2 separate regions of the Homo sapiens genome follow, and region 2 is linked to region 1. Evidence: promoter capture Hi-C in human tissues and cell types (Jung and others, 2019). All regions are on one chromosome and are shown on one strand. The core of a region is centred on a gene start or on the middle of the fragment in contact, and the rest is flanking DNA. Distances in the headings are between cores, read along the strand shown.

What was found. The method cuts DNA at HindIII sites, captures the fragments that hold promoters and counts their contacts. A contact is called where the count stands out against the background at its distance.
Region 2: a contact is called between a fragment that was not itself captured here and the fragment with the promoter of LINC00908 in region 1, in 5 of the 25 tissues and cell types used here (dorsolateral prefrontal cortex, mesenchymal stem cells, mesendoderm cells and 2 more).

Annotation. Positions count from the first base shown.
Region 1 is chr18:76,526,125-76,531,346 of GRCh38, reverse strand. LINC00908 (long intergenic non-protein coding RNA 908) reads right to left here and starts at 2,692. Exons shown (of 3, transcript NR_015417.1): 1 at 2,384-2,692; 2 at 883-963. RefSeq lists enhancers at 1,031-1,670, 2,094-2,173, 1,671-2,309, 2,310-2,950. The HindIII fragment of the contact is 15,253 bases long and covers 1-5,222 here.
Region 2 is chr18:76,458,785-76,464,427 of GRCh38, reverse strand. It overlaps ZNF516 (zinc finger protein 516), which reads left to right. Exons shown (of 7, transcript NM_014643.4): 2 at 1,287-1,400. Among named protein-coding and RNA genes, the nearest start is that of ZNF516-AS1, 30 kb to the left of the region's middle. RefSeq lists enhancers at 3,728-4,325, 4,326-4,923. The HindIII fragment of the contact is 5,783 bases long and covers 1,041-5,643 here.

The DNA.
Region 1 (5,222 bases), core at 1,443-3,942:
GAGTAGCTGGGACTACAGGCGCCCGCCACCACGCCCGGCTAATTTTTTGTATTTTTAGTAGAGACGGGGTTTCACCATGTTAGCCAGGATAGTCTCGATCTCCTGACCTCGTGATCCGCCCGCCTCGGCTTCCCAAAGTGCTGGGATTACAGGCTTGAGCCACCGCGCCTGGCCTACCCTTAACTGTTTTGAAGTCAGTGATGTCCCCAAACGGGCAGGTCTTTTGCCTTTTACCCTTAACCGTTTTGAAGTCAGTGATGTCCCCAAAGGGGATTATTGCTTCCCCAGGGAATCACAGTCTAGTGGCAGAGCCTTTCAAACCCACAACAGCTGTCATGCCTGAGACAGCTCAAGCAAGCCTGAGGGACATGGGAAGAGAGCATCCCAGGCCCATTCTGATCCATGGGAATCTAAGAAGGCCTCCTGGGGGTGGCGAGATTTGAATGTATCCTGGAGAGCAGGTAGGCATTTGTGGTAGACACTGTAGTGGGCCACCCAGAGTCCCCCTCAACCAAGCGCTGTCCCGCCAGCTGCAGAAAGTGTCAACTATTGACAACCTCTATCTGGGGACTCTCCAGGAACTGCCCTTCTTGAAGGGCACCTCACCCAAACACAGGTACCCTCCCTGGACACAGCCTGTCCCCAGCGAGTGGCCAGCGCATGGGTGCAACGCCTGGCCTCCTGCCTCAGGGGGAGTGACTCTCAGGGCTCTCAAATTCAGAGCCCTCCATGGGGTTGGCCGAGGCCTCTGTTGCAACTGTTCCTCAGTTCACCTTCCTCTTCTGCCCACCCTGGGTCCTGCCATTCTTCAGGTGTGGCTCCTGAGAGCACCGGCCTGTGAGACCCTGCGGAGAAATCACCGCCAACCGTGTGAGCACTCACCGCAGGGAAACAGCCTTCCACCACCTCCGCCTCCTGCTCTTGACCAAGCCCGCTAGGAGCACTAGGCCTCAGCCTCCTCATCTGTAAGACAGGGGCCAAAATGGTCTTAATTCTCAGAGTGTCATAAGCATGAAATGAGAGCGTGCACAGAAAGCCCTTACTTAGGCTTGGTGTGTAGTGAACGCCCAATAGAAGTGCTTGGTGTGCAGTGAATGCACAATAGAAGAAGTGATATGTGGCCGGGCGCGGTGGCTCACGCCTGTAATCCCAACACTTTGGGAGGCCGAGGTGGGCGGATCACGAGGTCAGGAGATCGAGACTATCCTGGGTAACGCGGTGAAACCCCGTCTCTACTAAAAATACAAAAAATTACCCAGGCGTAGTGGCGGACGCCTGTAGTCCCAGCTACTTGGGAGGTTGAGGCAGGAGAATGGCGTGAACCCGGGAGGCGGAGCTTGCAGTGAGCCGAGATCGCGCCACTGCACTCCAGCCTGGGCGACAGAGCGAGACTCCGTCCCCCCAAAAAAAGAAGTAGCGGTATGTATGATGTTGTTCGTCACAGAAAGCATGGAAAATACAGAAAGACACAGAGAAGAGAGTAAATTCACCCATGGGTCTACTGCCGGGTTAACAGGCACTACCAAGATTTCAGGTGGTGGGGGCGCACGCGCATGCGCACCAACACACGGGCCCTAGAAAAATAAACTCGGGATCCTAAGCGTGTACGCTGCGGTGCCCACACACGCGTCTGCCGTTCTCACCCCGTTTTCTGCTTTAATTTTCTGCTTAAATTGGTCATTTTCTGTGAAATGCACATTCCACTTCTGGGTAGTGTGCACCGCCCATCTCCCCCACGGAGTGCAGGAAGGTGGCAGCGGGGCTGTGTTCCAGGCCAAGGCCACACAGCCCGGGGGGCCGCACGCGGGGGCAGCCTTGGTACACGAGGCCTTTCATTTGTTGGTTTTACAGCTGGAAGAATTCGGATATACTTATTGACCGAGAGAAGAGTCCAAAACTCAGGAGTGGAAAATAACGAAGAATGAAGAAAGGAAACAGGAAGAGGTTGACCTGATTGATGGAAAGGAGCTCCTCTTTCTCCAAAACCAGAAGGAAAAGGAAGATTTAGAGAGCAGAGGAGGGTAAGTTTCCCCCGGATAATATGGGTTCAGTTGCATAATACGGCCAGGATGTTATCTGCAAAGAAGCTGTGGGGAGGAGAAGGCAGAGCAAGGAGCGCAGGGCTGAGACTGTGGGAGATGCAGCCGGAAATGACAAAACAGAAACAAAACGTGACCAAGGCCATTTGGGGTCCAGCTGAAGTTCAGCGGCTTAGATGCGTAGTAAGTCCCATGAGCACTGTTGCACGACTTGCCCACAGCTGTTCACATATGGACTTTGCAGCTCACATTGACTCTGGCCAGGGCGGGAGAGCCGGGGAGCCAGGCAGGTGCGTGGGAAGGGAGAGAAGAAAGGGAAGACGCGGTGCCCATTCCATATTTACCTTAGTAGTCATCCAGACGCACTTCCCTCTCCAATCCCCAAACAAGAAGAGGCAGAAACTGTCTACCAGTTAGACGGGAGGTGTCAGCGCCCCTGGAGGCTGTGGCCATTGCCAGGGAGACCCCACTCTGCACAGCTCACAAACACACCGTGTGTGTGCAGGGTCCTCACCCGCCCTGGGCAGGAAATGGGGGAGTTCTACGTCCACTTTGTCACGCAGACAATGGAGGGGACCGCAGAAGGGGCTTCCCCAAGGACACAGAGCCAGTGGCCGCCTCACTGTGTGCCCCTCAGTGGGCGTTTCCACACTGCCTGGCAACTTTGAGAACAGCCGCTTTCGCTGGGTCTCCAGTGAAACTTGAAACCATTTGCATCTGCAAGTACTTTACTTATTCCATTTCAAAGGCATGCACATTTTTAAAGGGACACTGTTTTTAGCTCCTGCGTCACTGACTCATCCCGCATAATTTGACTTTATGGGACAGGGTCCCCTAAGGAGTGTCCTTGCCTTGACAGTCCTGTCTTGAAAGCTGTGAAGACCAAGTGGTGCCATATATATTGTTTTAAAATTATGGACTACCTAGAAAAGAGGTGAAATAGTAAAAAAAAGCAAAACTTTTAATATTCAATGACAAACACAGACAGAAAATAGGGAAAAATTAAATGTTAATGTGTTGGGATGATTGGATTTTGAATAAATTTTATTTATTGAATTGATATGAAGTTTATGGAACAGGGATAAACAGTTTGTTTCATATGATTATATATTTAGGTATTCGTTGACATACATATATACGTATACATATACACGTATGTATTGCCGTGTGTACATATAGACACATAGCATGTATGTATAAAACATATACATATGTGCCAAATTACAAAACGAGAAGTCGTGTTGCTCATCCTGCTCTATTATAAGAAACCTCAAGCAACAGTAGGTACTGGAAAATGCCAAGTCTGCATGATCCCGGCAAGGGCAGATCCTGCCACTGGAGTTCTGGAATGCATCTCTCCCCACTTGGCAAAGATGCAGGGTGCAGAGGGGGTGTCAGCAGAGGGGCTGGGTGCAGAGGGGTTGCAGACTTACCACAGGAGGACTTTATCAAGAGATGTGGGTTTTCTGGGCATCCAGGACACCCACAATGGGGTGACAGAATTGTCTGTGGAGTGGAGTCCTAGTATTGAACTTGGCAGCTGCTACCGGATGCTCTTCTGGCACCTATGTTTTCAGAAAAACAGGAGCTGGCCAAGAGTATTTGCCAGATTTCTCCCTGGATTGGACTGATTTCTGCACTCAGCCCAGGTTTGTTTTTTTTTTTTTTTGGTGTGTGCCCCCGCGCCCGGCTAATTTTTGTATTTTTAGTAGAGACGGGGTTTCACCTTGTCAGCCAGGCTGGTCTCGAACTCCTGACCTCAGGTGATCCGCCTGCCTTGGTCTCCCAAAGTGCTGGGATTACAGGCGTGAGCCATGGCACCCGGCCTCAAACCAGCCTCAATCTGAAGGACGTGCATACTCTCCACAGGTCCCACAGGTCTTTCTAGGGTCCTTGCCCCTTACGTGCACTTCCTCTCTGAAGAGGTCCTTCCTCCACCATGTTGTCCCAGCCTGAAATTGTCCCTCATTATGGAGACTTGAGTGGTGTCTCCCACTGACTCCTCTCTCAAGGGGTGAGGGTTTGCTTGACCAGACACCAGCAGTGGGGCACACCCCTTCCAGTTCACCCTGATGAGCTCCTTATGCCACCACAGGGTCAAAATCAGGTTTAATAGCAGCAGCATTCGCAGTAGCCACAAAATGGAAACAACTCAAGCACCCCTCCAAGAGGGGGAATGGATAAGTAAAGTGTGCTGTATCCCCACGATGGAATATTATTCACTCATGAGAAGGAGTGAAACACTGGCACATGCCACAACGTGGATGAACCTTAAAAGCCTTATGCTGAGTGGAGGACGTCAGGCACAAAATACCACAGATTGTTATGAGCCCAGTTGTATGAAATGTCCAGAAGAGGCAAATCCATAGAGACAGAAAGCAGATCCGAGGTCGCCAGGGTCTGAAGGAGTCGGGGATGGGGAATGATTGCTAATGGGTCCAAGGGGGCTTTCCTTTCTGCATGAGGACAGTGTTTTGAAACTGGAGGTGATGGTGGCATAACACCGTGACTACACTAAATGCCACTGAGTTGTACACTTTTGATTTTAGGCTATGTGAGTTTTACTTCAGTTAAAAAAATAGATTGAAGGCTCAGAGAGATTTAGGGGTGGGAGGGTAAGGATTTAGGATTCAAAAGAACTTGACTAAGGAGCTGAGAATCTTAAATATATTTCCAGTGTCATTGGGTTACTGGCTGACCTCTGTGTGCTACCTTGGTACCCTACCCCAATCGACGCTTTGTTCTATGAGAAAAAGCATTCTGAGCTTCAAGTAACTGAAGTAACTGATTTATAAACAAACCGTTGGAATATAATCTTTTTCTTTTTAATTGTTGGGGACTATCTGTAATTTAGTCTCTAAAATATAGTTAATCTTTGGCTCTTGCTCTGAATTAATCAATAAAAAAGACATCATAGTGGTAATCTTTGGGGGAAGTGAAATTCAATTTAATCCATTTTTTCTATTTGTTAGCTCCTCCGGTAATTGGTTTGATGGGGAAGAAGTTTGAAGTTATTGGTTAAATAGAGGTTTTTGGATTATCTGTGAATTTCAATTATCCATGCTTCACCTGGCCCCAATTAGCACTAATAATCGAGTTAACTGAATAGAAGTCATTTCCCATCATATCAGTTTTGCTATAGGCTTATTAGTTGTTTCACTAATGGGCCCCCCAAAAGACAAA
Region 2 (5,643 bases), core at 2,683-5,182, 68 kb after region 1:
AGACAGCAAAGGCCCCAGTCATGCCAAGCTATGTGTGAGTCCCACTTTCTGTTTTTGAGACTGAGTCTCACTCTGTCGCCCAGCCTGGAGTGCAGTGGTATGATCTCGACTCACTGCAACCTGCACCTCCTGGGTTCAAGCGATTCTTCTACCTCAGCCTCCCGAGTGACTGGGACTACAGGCACACGCCACCACGTGCCACGTTTTTAATGTACCTTTAGTACATTAAAAATTTTTAAAGTACTAAAATTTTTTTTTGTATTTTTAGTACAGACGGGGTTTTACCATGTTGGCCAGGCTGGTCTTGAACTCCTGACCTCAAGTGATCCACCCACCTCAGCCTCCCAAAGTGCCGGGATGACAGGTGTGAGCACCCGCGCCCGGCCTTGAGTCCCACTTCTGAGACTGTAGATGGAGAAACATGGCGTGGTGCCGTAAAGAACGGGAAGTGATGGGGAGATCTTGTTTCGGTGGATCTTCTTCTGTCTTTTTTCCTTTTGAAAAGTGTGTGTAGTTCAGGACTGAGAACATAAGCTTTCGAGCACTGCTTATTGCTCAGGCAGTGGGAATAGTTTATTATGAATACTTTGCTAGTGTCTGTTTTAAAGCTTGCTGTCAAATCGCTTTGGAATGACTTTCAAGTCTAGTGAGAGCTGTGCCACACCCTGAAACATCTGGGGATTCCGTGGTCCCAGGTATAAGTGGGACACCGATTTCAGTGGGCACGTCTGCGTTGCGGTCACAGACTGGCTCCCTAGTACCCTAGTGTGTTTTGTAAACGCAGATGCTGCGGAGGAGGTGAGTAGGTGGCGCCCCACAGACCCATCCCCAAGAAGAGCGAGAGCCACCCAGGGGCCTGGCATTTCTGGCGGTCGGCAGTGTGATGCGCACACCAAGCGCAGTCCATGCCAGGAGCTCAGGGCATATGCATAGCAGGTGTTCCCTGGTGACATTTTGATAGGCTGGATTGACAACTAAATGCAGATTGTTCCGCTGCTACAGTTAGGCGGCGTCCTGGTTACCTTCGCTGCTGCGTTTGTGCTGTGACTGTTGAATGCTTCTCCTGCTCCTGGCTGCCCCTCACAGATGTGGGAAGTCCTATTAGAAACCACACTGTGTGGGATTTTCCCAGCAGCCCCACTTGGGGTGATTTAATTCATTCTGAAAATACCTACGGTAGCCCCAAAACGTCCTTGGGCATTGTTTTAATTTTTCTTAAAGAGAAGCAGTGGCAAATGGTTCTTAAAAACATAATTAGATGAATACTAAACTTTTCCTCATTTCAGAATCTGAGAGAGGCCGAGTGGAGTTCGGTCCTTCTCTGAACACTTTTAGCTGAGAGTACCAGCATCCAACTGGGAGCGTTGTCATTGCATTTCCACATTCCCAGGAAAGCCCAGGTAGGTGCAGTTGGATCACCTTCCTGTCAATCCGTCTGACTTCTGTTTCACAAACCTGGAATTTCAATCAAGCTTAAAACAACAGTTATTACTTTATGGTGTAGGGTCGCTTTTCTTGGCATAGCTAGAAAAATGTAAAATGATGGTAAATAGAAGAAAAATAATTAAACCAGAGCACATAACTGGGAAGCCGCCTCTGTGGGCTACTTTGATGAGGACATAGGGATCACAGTGTGAATGAGGTTTTCTGCTGAAAAACAGCCAGTGTAAGCTGATCGTAGAACTTGGTGCTCCTGGGGTGGGGGGTCCATTCCTTTTTATGATCTGGAAAACTATTGGCTCGAGGATATTAGCTTGCATATGAGTAAGACCCACTTTCTTTTCTTGCCCAAGTTTGCACAGCTTATTACAGTTGGGCGATGTTTTTGGGCAGACAGCTCTCTTCTCTTCTGGGAGGTGCCGGAGCAGAGCTGCCTAACGCAGTGATGGAATTGTGTGGTGCAGGCTTCATCTGCGTCCGCACGGGGGCAGGTTTCGGTTGTTACCAGGCAGGTCTTTAATGAGGTGGACCGCTAATCTCTCTGCTGAGACCTGCCCTGACGGCGATGTTTCTAAACTAAAGGGGCGTTGGAGGAGTGCCTGTGTTGGACTGTAGGTCCCTTGTGGGAACAGGAAGATGTGGTGTGAACTGTCTTGTGTTGTTCTTCAGTAATCGATTGGGTCATCATTTGATTAAAGTAGTGAAGTGGTTTTCTTGGGATTCCTACAAAGCCGTCTCTGAGTTTTGCAAATCTGGAGCTGCTGGTGCAAGTCCTGCCCGCTCCCCACTGTGATGGGGTGGCCTCTGGCGTGGAAGTGTGTCCCGTGGGCATGGTCACCAGCGCTCATCGGCGGAGGCTGGAAACACGCTTCTGTGGCAGAAACACTTTGAAAAAAAGGTAGATGCTGGAAGAATATACAAAATGTCATATTAATTTAAAAGGTAACCGGATGTGGGAAGGGTGGGAGCCAGGGCCCGCACGCTTGATATCCGGGCTTGGGCAAGATCATCCCCACAGAGTCACAGGAGGAGGGCGGAGCGGTTTCCCCACATACCACACGCCTGCAGGGCTGGACGCCGCACCCTTCCCATCCAGGTGAGGCTGCCCAGGGTTTCTCGCCTGCTAGCTGGTCCGGCCCATGGCGGGCACTCGGGGGATACCTGTTGACCATCTGATGAGACCTGGGCCCCTCGCCTGTTGGCGACAAGCCTCAAGCTGGTTCCCGTGCGGTCCCTGCATATTTTCGGTACTGCTGAATCTTGGATGGAGACCTGAAGAGGAAGGGATCTTGAATTTGTCAAGCGCCCACTGTGTGCCAGGCGCCCATTTTAAGCACCCGATGTATGTTTTCTGATTTTACGTTTGGATGGCAAGATTGCAAAACGTTTGTGTCCTATAAATGAATTTCTGACAATTGCAGAAGTTATAGGTGACAAATGACTCCTTCCACCCCCAAATTTCCTCTAAAGGCCACATTAAATAGGGTGATCCAGGGCTTCTCAAGTGGTGTAGCCCAACAGGTTGGTCCCAGGTGTGTGGAGACGCTGGTCCCCTGGGCCCTCTTGGTCAGGGAGGCAGCAGAGGGTGGGGAAGTGGCATGTGCCACAGGGCTCGGAGGAAGCCAACATGTTTTTCACAGTGCCTGTTGCGGCCATGGTGATCGGTGTTCTGTTAGACGAGACACTGGCCTCACCATTACATGGTCAGTGTGCAGTGATGACGGAGTGTCCAGGAGGAGCTTGGTTTAGGCAGATAAGTCAGCCCCGTTCAGTATGTTGTTATTTTTATTTATTTATTTATTTTTTGAGATGGAGTCAGGCTCTGTCGCCCAGGTTGGAGTGCAGTGGCATGATCTCAGCTCACTGCAACCTCCGGCTCCCGGGTTCAAGCGATTGTCCTGCCTCAGCCTCCCAAGTAGCTGGGATTACAGGCATGCGCCACCACGCCCGGCTAATTTTTTTTTGTAGTTTTAGTAGAGATGAGGTTTCACCGTGTTGGCCAGGCTGGTCTCCCTGACCTCAATTGATCCACTTGCCTCGGGTTCCTAAAGTCCTGGGATTACAGGCGTGAGCCACCGTGGCGGGCAGTATGTTGTTTAAAAAGGCCCTTCTATTACTTCTGGAAAAACAAAGGGTTAAGTAATTACCCGCCATGAACAAGCGAGGCGATCATGTGGCATGGCTTCTCCGGTTTGGGAGTTTTGATTCTTATTTTCACTGTAGCTTTTTGCAAGTGATCTCTCTCTCGGGGTGTGCTCTGACATGACTTGCACAATTCCAGAACCTCTCTAGCCCTGAACAGAAGCAGAGTAGAGCTGTCTACTTGTCTTTCATGAGCAACTGGGCTCGTTGAAAAAGGGAGGAAAACAGGATCGATCAGCCACCTTCCTCCCAGTTTTTTTACTGGTCAGTGGCCGACTTGCCAGCTGCTCAGGATGGTGTGGCCTCTTGCTTTGTGTTGATTTGGGGTCTTAGAGGTTCATAGGTGATGGCCACAGTGGTCGCTTTTGTAGCCCCGGATGTTACTTTGTATTTAGATTGTACCCCTTTTATTGGAAGGTCAAGGAATGTTCTGACAACTCCAGAATGCTCATTCCAGGCACCAGAGAGCGGGGGCCTGGAAGGTGGTAACAGGGAGGCAGGAAGACAGGGAATGGGCTCACAGCCTTGTCGAGGGATGTGGCTCACAGCTTTGACCCTCAGCGTCCTCGTCTGTGAAATGAGGGTGGCATCGCAGAGACGGAGGAGGGCCCTGGACGGTGAGTGCAGGCAGAGGTGCCTCCTGTGCTCTGTGCCAGGATGAGGATTTATGATTGCTAACAGCACTAGGAGTCATCGGAGTTCCGCATGTTTCAACCTTCGGGTGAGTGTCGCCCCTTGCTGTGTTTGGTAGGCACATTCCAACAGAACGAGTCCTGGTCCAGAAATGCAGTGCGGTGTTTTCTGGGCATTCTTCCCATTTGTTAGTGGAAGCATTCCTTGGCGTATGTTGATAGTGGTTAAAAGACTGCATTCTAGTGCAGTGGACATGATTCATTATTTGGGACTGGTGAGACAGACCTGCCCGATGCCAAGGAGGCTGCCTACGTAAAGACCCCACCCGGCGTTTCCTTATCATCAGTATGTTCCTTCTTGTGCCTGCCGGATCGCCTGTTCTTAGCCTGCCTGCCACCGTCTAACCTCGTCTCCGGGGGCCTGCAGTTGGCCCTGAATCCTCCCGCGTTGTGATGGGATACCCACTGTGCTCCAGGAGCAGTGCCTGGTGTAGCGTGAGGCTTCCGGTTCTACCTCCTGCCCTGCCACTTCCTGAAGCCCCGCATCAGGTCCAGGGGAGGCTGGGCCACTCTGACTCGGGCTGTGGAGCTGCTGGACATTTAAAGGCTTGGTGTTGAGAAGTGTTGCTGTTGGCATCATGGCAGACAGTGCTGGAATACATTCCGAGGGAGGCGACGCGGTGCCCGATGGGGTGCACACGGCCGCCACGTCCTGAATGGCACAAATCCTGGGCTGAGCTCAGGGCCAGCTTGGCACGCGAGGCCTCCCTGGCCGGCAGTGGAGGGCCAGAGTTTTCTCCCACGAAGGAAGCTAGGACGGCTGTCCTCAGAGAGCTTGGGTGCCTGTGGGAGGGCTCAATGATGTTGAGTGGATGGTGGCCACGGGTCAGGGCTGTCACCGGCCCAGGATTTCCCGAGCTGGCACTGGGTCCAGTGTGCCTCCAGCAGTGACCGTGCATGGAGGAGAAGCCGAAGCTCGGGGCAGGGAGAGAGCGCCCTATGCACAGGAGAGGGGCAGCAGGTGGGCCCGGCGCCCCGTTACTGCTGCAGCGTCTGGCTCTGTGCGAAGCTGGTAATCCAGGCACATGGGCACGAGTGTTGCTGGTAGATTGTTGGAAGTGGACATGCGTGTTTGCCTCCAGGTAGGGTATTTGAATGAGTGCTTTTATGTAGGTTAAGAGATCACACACATGTGCTCTCTCAGACACACACACACACCCTCGGGCACACTAGCACATGCTCACACATGACACTCAGTCTCTCTCATGTTCACCCAGCTGCTTCCACACTCACTGTCACACACTCTAACCTTTACACACAGGCACGCACACACACGACGGTGAGGCCTGGCATTGCCTACAGGCATGCACACACACAACGGTGAGGCACGCACACGCACGACGGTGAGGCACGCACACGCACGACGGTG